2 separate regions of the Homo sapiens genome follow, and region 1 is linked to region 2. Evidence: promoter capture Hi-C in 16 types of primary human blood cells and fetal thymus (Javierre and others, 2016). All regions are on one chromosome and are shown on one strand. The core of a region is centred on a gene start or on the middle of the fragment in contact, and the rest is flanking DNA. Distances in the headings are between cores, read along the strand shown.

What was found. The method cuts DNA at HindIII sites, captures the fragments that hold promoters and counts their contacts. A CHiCAGO score of 5 or more calls a contact.
Region 1: a contact is called between the fragment with the promoter of MMS19 here and the fragment with the promoter of GOLGA7B in region 2, in 8 of 17 cell types (naive CD4 T cells, total CD8 T cells, naive CD8 T cells and 5 more). The highest score is 9.8, in naive CD4 T cells.

Annotation. Positions count from the first base shown.
Region 1 is chr10:97,493,455-97,500,028 of GRCh38, forward strand. MMS19 (MMS19 cytosolic iron-sulfur assembly component) reads right to left here and starts at 4,968. Exons shown (of 31, transcript NM_022362.5): 1 at 4,819-4,968. The coding sequence starts at 4,930. It overlaps UBTD1 (ubiquitin domain containing 1), which reads left to right and starts at 5,470. Exons shown (of 3, transcript NM_024954.5): 1 at 5,470-5,819. The coding sequence starts at 5,750. RefSeq lists enhancers at 4,093-4,623, 4,300-4,349, 4,710-4,879 and silencers at 5,120-5,879, 5,890-6,089. The HindIII fragment of the contact is 10,400 bases long and covers 2,034-6,574 here.
Region 2 is chr10:97,847,225-97,854,026 of GRCh38, forward strand. It overlaps GOLGA7B (golgin A7 family member B), which reads left to right and starts at 2,619. Exons shown (of 5, transcript NM_001010917.3): 1 at 2,619-3,091. The coding sequence starts at 3,080. It overlaps GOLGA7B-DT (GOLGA7B divergent transcript), which reads right to left and starts at 2,574. Exons shown (of 3, transcript NR_108035.1): 1 at 2,442-2,574. The HindIII fragment of the contact is 7,033 bases long and covers 1-3,490 here.

The DNA.
Region 1 (6,574 bases), core at 3,718-6,217, 350 kb before region 2:
CAGCTACTCTGGAGGCTGAGGCCAGAGGATCACTTGAGCCCAGAAGTTCTTCGAGGTCACACTGCACTCCAGCTGGGGCAACAGAGTGGACCCTGCTTCTAAAATAAATAAATAAAACAATCACAGTGTAACAAGTTCTGTGTTACCACAGTGATATAAACAGAGATTGGGTTGGCATGAGAAAGAAGTAAAATTCCTGGGTTTATGGACCATGGGCCACTAACTTTAAGTGATTAATTCTTTTAATGGTGCAAATTATCCAAAATTAAAAATAACCAGGGTTGGCATGGTGGTTCACACCTGTAATCTCAGCACTTTGGGAGGCCAAGGCAGGCAGATCACCTGAGGTCGGAAGTTTAGAGACTTGCCTGACCAACATGGAGAAACCCCATCTCTACTAAAAATACAAAATTAGCCGTGTGTGGTGATGCATGCTTGTGATCCCAGCTACTCGGGAGGCTGAGGCAGGAGAATCACTTGAACCTGGGGGGCAGAGGTTACGGTCAGCAGAGATCGCACCATTGCACTCCAGCCTGGGCAACAGAGCAAAACTCCATCTCAAAAGCAAACAAACAAACAACAACAACAACACACCCGTAATACCTGGAAATACTATTAATTATGCACTTGGACTCCTGGGATGAAGAAAGCTAACAGAGAGTTAATTTTCCTAACGGTATTTTCGCTGGTATCAAGGAAAAAATCAGTGTAAGTTCATTTCCCTTTATAGGAGGGTCTAAGATTTTCCAACACGTTCAAGATTTGCTCTTAAAAATGGACCTACTAGCACCTCCTAACTACCCACACTTTCCTTAGCAAGGCACCAGTTTGTGTGGGGGCACTGAGAAGTCAAAGGAGTATTCATGTGATCATTGACACAGAATGCACAAACAGATCTCTGTCTGATGGAGTTGAAGCCTCTTGAGAATCTGGACTAGCAGCCAAAGGGAAGTGAGGGGAAGCGGGTAGGGTGGGAGGATGAGAAGGAGCAGGAGAGAGAAAAATCCCAATCAGGACTAAGTTCCAATCAAGCTCTCAAAATGCCCTTTCTGCTGATAATGCCTCAGATATTTCACTAAACTGTATTTTACTGTTCTTTAATACTTTGACTTAAGGAATAGAGGTATTCTTAGGGAATCACAAACATGGAAAAACACAATACAATAAAGACTGAAATGAAGGAAAATCCAAATAACTAAAAGGAAAAAAATTATATCCATCACCTGCAAATTCAACGTGTTCAAAAATCACATTCTCTGAAAATCAGCTCTCGTCCTAATTTTGGACAAAGTATTTCTTTTCCTCATCCTCTGGTTCAAAACCTTGGGGTCTTCTTAGAGTCCTCTATCTCCTTCAAGCCCTATAATAACTAGTTAGAACTCAAATTCCACAGATTCTTCCTTCAACATTTCTCATTGCATTCACTCAAGCAGTTTTTATTGTGTACCTACTGATGCCAATTTCAGGAGATTCTGGTGGTACAACTGGGAGGGTAGGATGTGGAGATGTATACAGCAACAGCTACTAAACTAGTCCACTAAATACATGAGTGGTTGAGAAATAAGTGCGTACTACAAAGATTCTGACGTATGAGATGCTGTCTGGCTGGGTTAATCAGGAAACCCTTGGGGAGGGGTAGGGAACTCAAGCTGGGCCTTGACTCTCAGGTCTAACTTCGATTACACAGAGCTAGTGAAGGGAATTGGGAAGGAAAGCACTCAGGGAACTACGAATAAAGGTGGCTGCCTGGAATTAAACGTCCAGGGAGCAGTGAGAAAAAAAGGCTGGGGCCAGGTAGTGGCAGGCTTTGAAGGCTTGCCCAAGAGGCCTTTAACCCTTAGGCTGCCAGGTTATTTCCCTCCCATCGCCTGCAGCTTCTTTACAGCTGACACTTTCACCAGGAACCCAGGTACAAAACAAAGGTGGCAGCAGCTGCTTTTGTGATCAAAGGGTGCTCCTTCTGCATTTAAATTTGCAGGCTGCTACTCTGAGTGACTGAACAGGAAGCTAGCTGGTCCCTTTAGCGCTAACAAAGCTTGATTTAGGCTGAAAGATTAGAAAGCACATCTTATTCTATAAACGCTTCAACACTCTGTTATCCTTCAACAACCCTAACTAGGGCTGTGATCTAAGATTGACAATATTAACTTAATCCTTGTCAAATTTGTTTTCATTTTATGGCTCCCTGGCTCAAGGATCTACAACAACTCTTAGTACAGATAACAGGTCATTCAAATTTCTCTGCCTGGAATCCAAAGTTATACACAATCCAACCCTACCAAACCTTTTCAACTTTTATCTGTTACTATTCCTTTGTACCAACTTTCTTTTCTTTTTGTTTTTTTGAGACGGAGTCTCGCTCTGTTGCCCAGGCTGGAGTGCAGGGGCGCGATCTCCGCTCACGGCAGCCTCTGCCTCCCAGGCTCAAGCGATTCTCCAGCCTCAGCCTCCTGAGTAGCTGGGATTACAGGCATGCACCACCATGCCTGGCTAATTTTTGTATTTTCAGTAGAGCGGGGTTTCACCATGTTGGCCAGGCTGGTCTCAAACTCCTGGGCTCAAGCAATCCGCCTACCTTGTTCTCTCAAAGTGTTGGCATTACAGGCGTGAGCCACTGTGCCCACCACCAACTTTCTTTTCTTAGGAGGGCTAAATTACAACAGGGCTAGTGTTACAGTCTTAAATCAGTTGAGTTGAATTCAAATTAAGCAACAGTTTAGACCATTTTTTTTCAGAAAGAAACAAAAATATAAATTTTGCAAAAACGTTTGTAAGAATTTAGCAGTCCCAGTGGCTCATGCCTGTAATCCCAGCACTTCGGGAAGCTGAGATGGGAGGATGGCTTCAGTCCTGGAGTTAGAGACCAACCTAGGCAACATGGTGAAACCTCGTCACTACAATACAAAAATTAGCCGAGCGCAGTGGCACACTCCCTGTTGTCCCAGCTACTTCGGGAGGCTTGAGGCAGGAGGATTGCTTGAGCATAGGTCGAGGCTACAGTGAGCCATGATTTCACCACTGCACTCCAGCCTGGCAGACAGAGAGGGACCTTGTCTCAAAAAAAAAAAAAAAAAAAGAGAAGAATTTGCAGTCCTTATTCAAGATAAGTCCTTATTCAAGATAAGACATTCAAGATGTCTTTTCAAAATATGTTCTGAATCAAAAAAAAATCCAAAATTATTGTTTTCGTATCGCATAAATGTGAAAGACTCATCACAAATGACACTGATATAGTAATGTTCTATATCTTCGTAGGGGGTTGGATTGTATAGGTGTATGCATTAGTCAAAATCAGTGAACGTACACTTAAAGGTTTATATATTCCATTTTACATCAAAATAAACCGTCAACAAACTCTAGTCAATGACATGCATGCCAAAGTATTTAAAGGAAAGTGTACAGGTATCTGCAATTTAAATGGATGGATAGCTATATGATAAAGCAAGTAATATTAAAATGTTAATGGTAGGATAGATCCTAAGTGATGTGCTCCTTATAAAATTCTTTATACTTGGCTGGATATTCGAAAATTTTCATAATAAAATATGAGGGAAAATGACATTGGTAAGACACTGTACTTGTAAATTGTAAACACTGATAACACACTACATTTCATAAAATTGTAAGATGTTAAGTTTGGTGGCAGCACCAGGTATTTGCTCCTTGATGCTTCCAAACTACGCTGCACACACCTCTTACAGAATGGTTGCCTCTCCCAGCATACTATAAGTTCCTGGTGGGCACAGATCTAACCTAATTTGTATTTATATTCCTATTGCTTTGCATCATGTTTGGGGAATAATATGTATTCAACAATAGTGGCATGATTGAATTAAAGTGGAATACTGCTAACGAACAAAGTATTATATTTCTAGCAGATTCACTATTCTTTTCTTACATATTCTAAAGGTTAATACGCTCAATATCCAAGAGAAATGTGTCCTTACTTCTCTCCAAGCATACGAAATTTCCAAAGTTTTTTTAAAAAAACTACTCATTAGATAATTTTATATTGTTACTTAAACCCAAGATCTGAAGGCCTCCTAACATTCAATAACTTTTTAGTAGTTTTTTTTTTTTCCTAGAAGAGCAAAGTCTCAGAACTCCACGGAAGCCTGGAAATCGTTTTATTCTAATTTTAGATAAGCTGTCTGAACTAAGAGATCTCTGAACTGGTCAAAAGCAGGAAAGTGGGGGTCTGGGAAGAAGACAAAAACAAACGCCACATAAAACGTCATGGAGCAAACTAATCAAGAACTTTAGCAAGAAACGGAGAGAAAGTCTTAAGGAGGACACCCAGAACATCTCCAGCTCCTCCTGGCCCGTCTCCTCAACTCCTCTTAATTCCAGCCAGTCAGAGCGCGGGGCCATCTGCCACTCCCAGGATGCCACGCGACGGGAGCGGACGCTGCGAGGATGCACCTCCACACGTCAACCTCCCACAAACAGCATGGCTTCGTGGCGTGAGCACCCGGTTCGGACCTGAACGCCTGGGTCCGAGTCCCACCTCCCCCTCCTGCCTGGTCTGCAGCCCTGCGCAAGTCCTCTTGCCCTCGCTGAGCCTCAGTTTCCTCATCTGTAAAATGTAATGATTCCCTATAATTGGCTACAGGGAGATGAGAAGTGTAAATGGTTTTAAGGAAGACACAGGCAACTCTCTAACTTGTTACGGCTCTGAACCTCGCGGTGCTCACTAACCAGCCTTGAGACCAATCTCTCAAAGTCACCCCGCTCCTCCCTTCCCGCCCGGCGCCTGTACTGAGGCCGCTCCCTCCTGTTGGCCCCCATGCGGAAGGCGCGCGGCGCCGTCTGCCGTACCTGCAGCCACCTGGTCAGCGGGGCCCTCTTGCTGACCCACGACGAAGTCGTGCACGAGGCCCCATAGGGCACCCATAGGCGCCGCCGCCTCCACAGCCGCGGCAGCGGCCATAACGCGAACTAGAGACCGTGGGAGGGGATATGGGCGGTGGCTCGAGACGGGCTCTCCGCGCATGCGCCTCCCGAGCCAATCTCCGGGGAAGCGCAAGGGGGCGGGGCGCCGGGGTCACGTGCCTGCCGGCTTCTGCCTAGGCAGTTCCAGGGAGGGGCGGGGCCTGAAATGGGGCGGTGGCACCGAGAGGGAAGGCGGCTGCTGGGCACGCAGCCGGAGGCGATTGAGGGCGAATAATTCCCAGCCCGGCTCCCCGGGAGACGGGCTGCGGGGCGGGCACCTGGCTGGGTGGGGAGAGGGGCGGTACGCACCACGGGGGAAGCCAATGAGAAAATCAGGCCCAGCCCTAGGGGGCGGTGCTGTCGGTCACATGCGCACCTGGGGCGGGTGGTGGCGGCGGCGCGGGCACCGCGAGCCGGCGGAAGGGAGAGGGGCCGGCCTGGGGCGGGGTTAGGCAGGTGAGTGACAGGCTCCAGGGGGCCGGCCCCTGCCTGGTGCCCCGAGCGAGCCGGGAGTAGCTGCGGCGGTGCCCGCCCCCTCTCTCCGCCCCTCCAGCGGAGCTGGTCTCCGGCCGGGCACCGTCGCGGGCCCCCCTGGCCCGGCCACCTGGGACCGTGCTGGGGAGTCTGCCACTTCCCTCTCTCCCCTGGCCCGCAAAGTTTTGGCGGAGCCATCGCTGGGGCTGAGCGCGCCCCCGGGGGGAGATCGGGGAGCGCCCGATGCCGGGCGGCCGGAGCCATTGACCCGGGACGCCGCCGTCCGCTGAGCAGCCGACCACCCCGCCGCCTCCGGTGCATGGGGACTGGCTGAGGAGCCAGCATGGGCAACTGCGTGGGGAGACAGCGCCGGGAGAGGCCGGCAGCCCCGGGACACCCCCGCAAGCGAGCAGGTAACGATGGGGAAGGGAGCAGGGCCTCGGGCATCCCGCCAGTTGTCCCCCTCCTCGCCCGAGTCCTGGGCTTACCGATGGACTCCCCACTGGTGCTGGCGCTTGGGTTTCCCCGATGGGCTGCTCCGCAGCCAGAGGGGGCCGCTCCCCAGCGCCGGGCGGCCGGGGGAGCTGAGTTGGGGCAACTGCGAGCACTGAGCCGGCTGCGCGACCAACTCTCTCCAACTGGGTAGCTCCTGGTGGGGGTGGGGGCAGGAAATGTTTGCAGACCGCAGCGGGGCCGACGGATCGGGAGGAGGCCGGGGGCGAGGGCGCCGCTGGCCTGGCAGCTCCGGCCGGGGTCGGACGCCGGCCCGTCGGGGCACGGCGCGGGCAGCCAGGCGTCCCCAGAACTCGGAGCGAGCGAGGCGAGAACAGTCGCTCCTTCCAAAGACTGTGTCATTATCGAGCTGCAGATCGTGTCTGCGGGAATCCGACTTGCAAAGCAGCGCAGGACTCTGGGAAAGAAATCTTTATTTTTCCCGCAGGGGTTTTTAGAGCCTCTCGGCCGTCTGGGAGTCTATAAAAGATGGGGTGCGGGGTGAGAGTCACCCTTGGGATTGTTGGGATCCTTCCCAGCTTTGGGAGTGAGATCGCTCGCTGGTGATCCTCCAGGCCCGCGCAACGCTTTCTCACTTTCATGGTACACCCCGCCTGCCCTGGCATTTCGCCCCGGGAAGAGGTCTGTCGGTCATTTTTCTGGGTCTTACACTCAC
Region 2 (6,802 bases), core at 1,369-3,868:
AATGTGTTTTAGGGGTGACAAACTGTTCTAGAATATTAGATAATATGGGCATTTTAAAAGCATGATAATTGGCTGGGTGCGGTGGCTCATGCCTGTAATCCTGGCATTTTGGGAGACTGAGGTGGGCGGATCACCTGAGCTCAGGAGTTTGAGACCAGCCTGGCCAACATGGTGAAACCCTGTCTCTACTTAAAATACAAAAATTAGCTGGGTATGGTGGTGCGTGCCTGTAATCCCAGCTACTTGGGAGGCTGAAAATCACTTGAACCCAGGAGGCAGAGGTTGTAGTGAGCTGAGATGGTGCCACTGCATTCCAGCCTGGGTGATAGAGCAAGACCCTATCTCAATAAAATAAAATAAAATAAAGCATGAGAATGGTGTTGTGCCTAGTTGGGATAACGCTTTTCTTCTTGGGAGATGCATGGTGAATTGAAGTACTTACAGATAAAATCTCATTGAAGTACTTACAGATAAAACCTCACGATGTCTGTCACCTTATTATTATTATTATTATTATTATTTTTGAGACGGAGTCTCGCTCTGTCACCCAGGCTGGAGTGCAGTGGCGCAATCTCGGCTCACTGCAAGCTCTGCCTCCTGGGTTCATGCCATTCTCCTGCCTCAGCCTCCCCAGTAGCTGGGGAGTAGCTCCCCAGGTGCCCACCACCACGCCCGGCTAATTTTTCTGTATTTTTTAGTGGAGACGGGGTTTCACCGTATTAGCCAGGATGGTCTCAATCTCCTGACCTCATGATCCGCCCACCTCGGCCTCCCAAAGTACTGGGATTACAGGCGTGAGCCACCGCGCCCGGCCACGATATCTGTCACCTTCTGATAATCTAGGCAAATATAGCTCTGTTTTCATATCTATCAATAAAGCAAATGTGGCAAAAAGCAATTGTTGGAGCTAGGTAGATGGCATAGTTTATTGTACTATTCTTTCAACATTTTGGTATGTTTAAAAATGTCAAAATAAAAGGTTGGAGAAAAAACAAAAGGTCCTAGAAACAGTCTAGTGAAATCCAACACTCACATTTTACAGAAAGAGAACCATAAGCTCAGAAAACAAGACAGTTGCTCGAGGTTATACAGCTGGAAAAGCCTGGGCCAGGTCTCTTGGCCGCCAGGTTCTCCCTGTGTGTGGGCTTCAGACTCTCAGGCAGCAGTGAGCTGCAGAGGAGCACACCCCACCACCCCTCAAAGAGACCAAGGGGTATTATGGGTATGTAAAAAGGCACTTGTGTTGGTGTTTCCTTTTTTTTATGTCTATTTTATTTATTTATTTATTTATTTATTTTTTGAGACAGAGTTTCGCTCTTGTCGCCCAGGCTGGAGTGCAATGGTGTGATCTCAGTTCACTGTAACCTTTGCCTCCCGGGTTCAAGCAATTCTCCTGCTTCAGCCTCCTGAGTACCTGGGACTACAGGCGGGTGCCACCATGCCTGGCTAATTTTTTTTTGTATTTTTGGTGGAGATGGGGTTTCAGCATGTTGGCCAGGCTGGTCTTGAACTTCTGCCCTCAGGTGATCCACCCGTCTCGGCCTCCCAAAGTGCTGGGATTACAGGTATGAGCCACTGCTTCCGGCCTTATTTTTATTTTTTTAAGAGACAGGCTCTTGCTCTATTGCCCAGGCTGGAGTACAGTGGCACAATCATGGCTAGCTGCAGCCTTGAACTCTTGGATTCAAGTGATTCTCCTGCCTTAGCCTTCTGAGTAGCTGGGACCACAGGCACACATCACAACGCCCGGCTAATGTTTTCATTTTTTGTGCAGACAGGGTCTTGCCCAGGCTGGTCTTGAACTCCTGGGCTCAAGCAATCCTCCCACCTCAGCCTCCCAAAGTGTTGGGATTACAGGTGTGAGCCACTGCACCTGGTCTCCTTTTTATTAAACAAATAGATCATTTAGTTGGAATTTATGATGTCAAAAGTGCGAAGGTGGCACCAGAGCCAGACCTGCCATCCTTGGAGAGTGAGCATACCGGTTTGGCACCATCTGCTTGTGGTTTTTGAGTGGTGGTGGTAGTGGTGGTGCGTGTATGTAAACTCGGGTTGCAGAGGAGAGAGGGAAGAGTAAAGGGTGGGGACCAGGTCCAGGAAGAGCAGCAAGGAGAGACTGGCTTCAATTCTGGAGCTGCCTGAAAGAAGGGACCCCAGGCTATGGCTGAGAACGAAATGTGGGCACGTATTTAAAGAAAGGAAATGATTCTCTGCGGTCGGCAGGATCTTTGTCTAGCTAGTGGGGTTCCAGGAAGTGCAAAGGAGAGGGGAAAAGAGGGGCCGTCCGTGCAAGCCTGACTGTGTGTATATGGGGGGGGGGCACACAGAGAGGAAAAGGGAGAGAAAGAAAAGAAATTATTCTAAAGAGGAAGCTGGGGGCGGGGCGAGGGAGGGGTAGAGCCGGGGCACTGGGGGTGGCTGGAAAGGTAGAGAGGCCTCACCTGCGGGCCTGCGAGCGGCTCGGGAGCGGTCAGCCTTGCAGGCTGAAGCGTCTTGCCCCGGAAAAATTCCTGCCCCACTGTCCTTCAGGCTGGATGTCCCGGGGGCCACGGAAGCGAGCGCAGAGCTCCGGGGCTCTCACGAGGGGGAGGGCAGGAAGGGGAGGCGGGGCCTCGCGCGGGGCGGTAGCCGAGCCTGTGGCCCGGGCGGGGCTCCTCTCCGGCGGCGCCGGAGTCTGGGGGCCGCGGCTTCCCCCTCCCGGCCAGCGGCGGCTCCTGGCCCCTCCTCCCCCGGCCGCCCCCATCCCCGCCGCCGCCGCCGCCAAAGCTAAACCCGGCCGTTGCCTGCAGGAGCCGCGGCAGCGGGCGATCGGGCCGTGAGGAGCCTCGGGCGCGGCCTCGCCTCCCGGGCCCGGCGCCTGCCTCAGCACAGCGGACAGCGCCGCGCCCCTTGCCTGGACCCAGCCGCCCGCCCGCCCCCGGCCCACCTGAGCCCGGGCCCGCGGCGCCCGCATCAGCACTGCGGACAGCGCCCCGGGCCCCAGCTCGCCGCCACCGCCGCCGCCCACCTGCTCCCGGGGTCAGCACCGCGGAGACCCCCCTCGCCCGGCCCCGCGACAGCCTCCGAGCGCCCCCGGATCATGGCCACCGAGGTAGGGGCGAGCGCCCCACCCGCAGGCAGTGCCCGATTGCCGCGGGACCAAATGCCCTAGGGGTGGGCTGGGCAGGAGTGGGAGGCGGGAGTTGGGGGTGGGATGGGGTGATTCCCCAGGTCAGGTCTGGAGGGAGGAGGTAGGGGCTTAGTGAGGGCTCATCTCCCCCTTGCGTGTCAATCTTCCCCTCGCCCCACCTGAGCCCCCAAGCTGTCCGCGACACTTGTTGGCATTAGCGCCAGGGTTGCTTCAGGGCCCCAGGCTGGGGTTTCCCCTTCCCTGGACTTCACAAGTCCTGAAACCGCTTTCCTAGAGGGTTGGAGACGCGTGTGTGTGCGTGTGTGAGGGGAGGGAAGGCGGCTGTCCGCTGTTGCTATGCAGTCAGCTTCTGAACCCAAAAGCTTGGCTAAGGGATGACAGACTTACCTCTACATCCGCATTTCCTTTGCGGGAGGGAGGGGACAAAGACATCCTCAGGCTGAGAACCCAAATGGTTGGTCTCCACTTTTGCATATCACCCTTCTTGCTTTTTTACCCCATTCGAGTTTTTTTTTTTTTTTTGTCCCAGGGTGTCCAGATTTCCCCTCCATCTGATGGGAGTTTCTGCCTTCTTCAAGGTGCACTGATAGGTGTGTCACCTTCAAGCACTTGAAGGCTGAACCACGGGGCCTGTTAGCTAAGGGCAGAATCTTGGTATAATGCTTGAGGTCGAGGATTCCCCCCTCTACCCCTAGGGATTGCCCTTTCCCCCCTCATTTCAGGAGGGAGATTGGGCTCTTTATGTTCCCACTTTATACATGATAAAGGTGATGTGTGGAAAACGAAAGGACTAATTTGCTACTCCACACAGCATGTCAGCAGCAGAGCGGAAAGTTTTTGCCTTTGAATTTTTGGAGCGAAACTCAGGACATCAGGGTCTCCCCAGTTCTGATGTTGACTTCCTTTGTGGTGTCTCCCCATTTCCAATCCAGCTGGCATACACTGGGGGAGAGCAGAGGCCTGTGAATGATTCAATGCAGTGCTTCTGGGCATCCTGGTGAGCAGTGTGACATTAATACCAAGTGTGGCTGTTGTTATTCCACTCAAGTTTCCACCACAGAACAAGGTGCTGTTGCTTGGCATTGCTTGGCATTCTGACAAGGCACAAGGTTAGCTAGGCGGAGAGTTGCCCCTCAGGACTTGGTGTGAGGGCAAGCCCTGGGCAGACCCTGGGAGCTTGGTTTCTAGAGTAGAGGAATGCAGAGTACTCACAAAGCACCAAAGACATGGAGGACAGCAGGAAGAACAAAGGGAGAAACCAAGGAGTTGGTTACCTTCCAGATAGGGCTGCCAGACTGCAGCAGAGGCTGCTGTGTTGGACAGAAAAGGGGAACTTCAGCTACATGGGCATGGCTGGGCCAGCAGCGTGGGCAGAGAAGGCAGCTGCCTCTGCGATGTGATCTGACAGATTCCAACAGGCCCATCTGTCCCAGGATGTCTGCCATGGCCCACAGATTCCAACCAGCAGGCTTCTATCTCTATGTCAAGACAGCGTTTCCAGGAGGCTGCTATGAGACATGTGTGACTCTCCCCTGGGAGGGGCTCTGCTCATAACGCCTCTGAAAATATTGCGCTTTCCTGTGTACAAAGCACTATCGCATAAGTGATCTCTTTCAAGCCTCAGAGCAGCCCTATGAAGTGGGTAAGGATGGTGTTATTATGCCCAATTAACAGATGAGACAACTAAGGTTCAGAAACTTGCCTGGTCCCTGTGAAGGAGCCAAAGAAGGCATCATTATCCCATTTTACAGATGATGGAACTGAAGTGCTGAGACTTATTCAGGAAAATATGGCTAAAAGGTGGCAGGGATGGGATAAGAACTTGAGTCTTCTGCCTCTTTGGCCAGTGCTTTTTTTTCCTGCATCCAATTAGCCTATTGTGTCACCTGATAGAGAGGAGGGCCCTCCAGGTCTTGATGTGAAGCTTTGGTGGAGAGAGGGATGCAAAGGAAGTCATGAAGGGCTGGAGTGTGGGGACTCAGGCCCCCTGCTTGGCCTGGCTGGGTTGGTTTGAGGGCAGAGGGACAGAGGAAAGTCCCGGAGTGATGGGGAGCTGAGGACAAACATTCCTCACTTCACAATTTGGCCTTGGGTGGACTCTGATGGCAGAACTGAGGCAGGAAGCCTTAGCTCTGCCAGGGCACAGGACCTGCACGTATTCTGGGTTGTGGGGTGAGTCATTCTCCCAAGGCTGTTTTTACTGTTAGAATTGAGTTGAGATTACCAGGATAAACTTGTTGGGAGAGGGAAAACATCGCTTTAAGTTCCCATGATTATTCTGTTAGGATTCTCAATAGGAACTCCTCAGCTCTAGGAGAAGCTGTATTGAGAGAAGGAGAGAGGGAGAGGAAGGGGGTGGGGAGAGGGACAGAGAGGGAGGGGTGAGGGAGAGGGAAGAAATTCATGGGTGGAAACTGGGTCTTTTCTGTTCCCTAATTTCTGTTTAGGAGTTAGCATTAGGGGAGAGGTGTCTGTAAGGAACTCAGAGGAGGGATGGAGCCTCCTGAGTGATACACTGACCTCATTTGGAGAGCTGCAATGAGCCCATTTTCTGAGCAGCAAACCTCTGTGAATGTGTGTCACTGGGAGCAGGGTCTGCCCTGGGAAATAGTCCAGATGGCCAAGGACAACTGGGAAGTGCCTGGCTGGGAGGGGCTTCTCCAAGTGGTGGGGTTTGGTCTCTAAGAGATTTTTAAATGCATCCAAGTAGCGTTATTCAAGCAGGGTGTTTGGAGGTTTGATCTTTGAGGCATGGAATTAATGATGAGTAGACAACTGGGTCAGGCTTGAGCACTGGTACAGGCTGAGAAGAAGGGAGGTCTTGTGGCTGGTGTTTTATCCTTAGGCCTGACCTGGCTGTCTGTGACTCATGATCCTCACTCCTCCTTCACACCCCAGCCAGGAAGCAGAGTGCTGGCATCAGCGGAACCTCCTAATTCTCGATGCCTCACATGCATCCTATGGAATGAGATGGTTTTTAATGAGGATGAAGATGGCGCCAGGGGGGCACTCCTGTTGGACTTGGGCAGACTGGACCAGGAGCTCATTTGCACTCTAGAGCTTGTTCCTCTGCACCCCAGCTAGTTGACTGTCAGGTGAACAGGAGCCAAATGTGTGACCTGTGGTACCCACTCTCCAGGCAGACTCCCCCTCCTTCTCATACTGCAGTTTGAAAATTGGTACCCATGGGTCTCACCACTGATTTTCTTCCTTATGAAATGCTTCTCGGCCCTGTCTTCACTCTGCTGCCAGTGAGCCAGGGGTGGCAATGGGAGAGAGGGGCAGGGTTGAGGAAGGTGAGAAGTGGAGAGAGGCTCAGGTCTCTGGGTCAGTTAAGAACCCCCTGGGAGACACCCAGGGGAAACACAGAAACTGCAGCTTCAGAGAGAGTTGTGCACATATTTTGATATCCTCTGGTAGGATTTCAGAGCATCACGGATCTCTGCTGAAAACCCCACCAGCTTTCTGAAAACTTAGTAGCTGGCCAGTGGCCTGGAGCCTGGCTTAGCTCTTGCCCAAGGGGCCCCAGCCATGGGATTCTTTATTTAGAGGTCTTAAACTAGCAGCTCTAGAAATGAGTCTGGTCCATGGGTGTGCCTTACTTAGTCTGTTGAGTGCTTATACATTTTAAAAATGTATTGGAAATATTCAAAAATCAGAATATTTGATGTT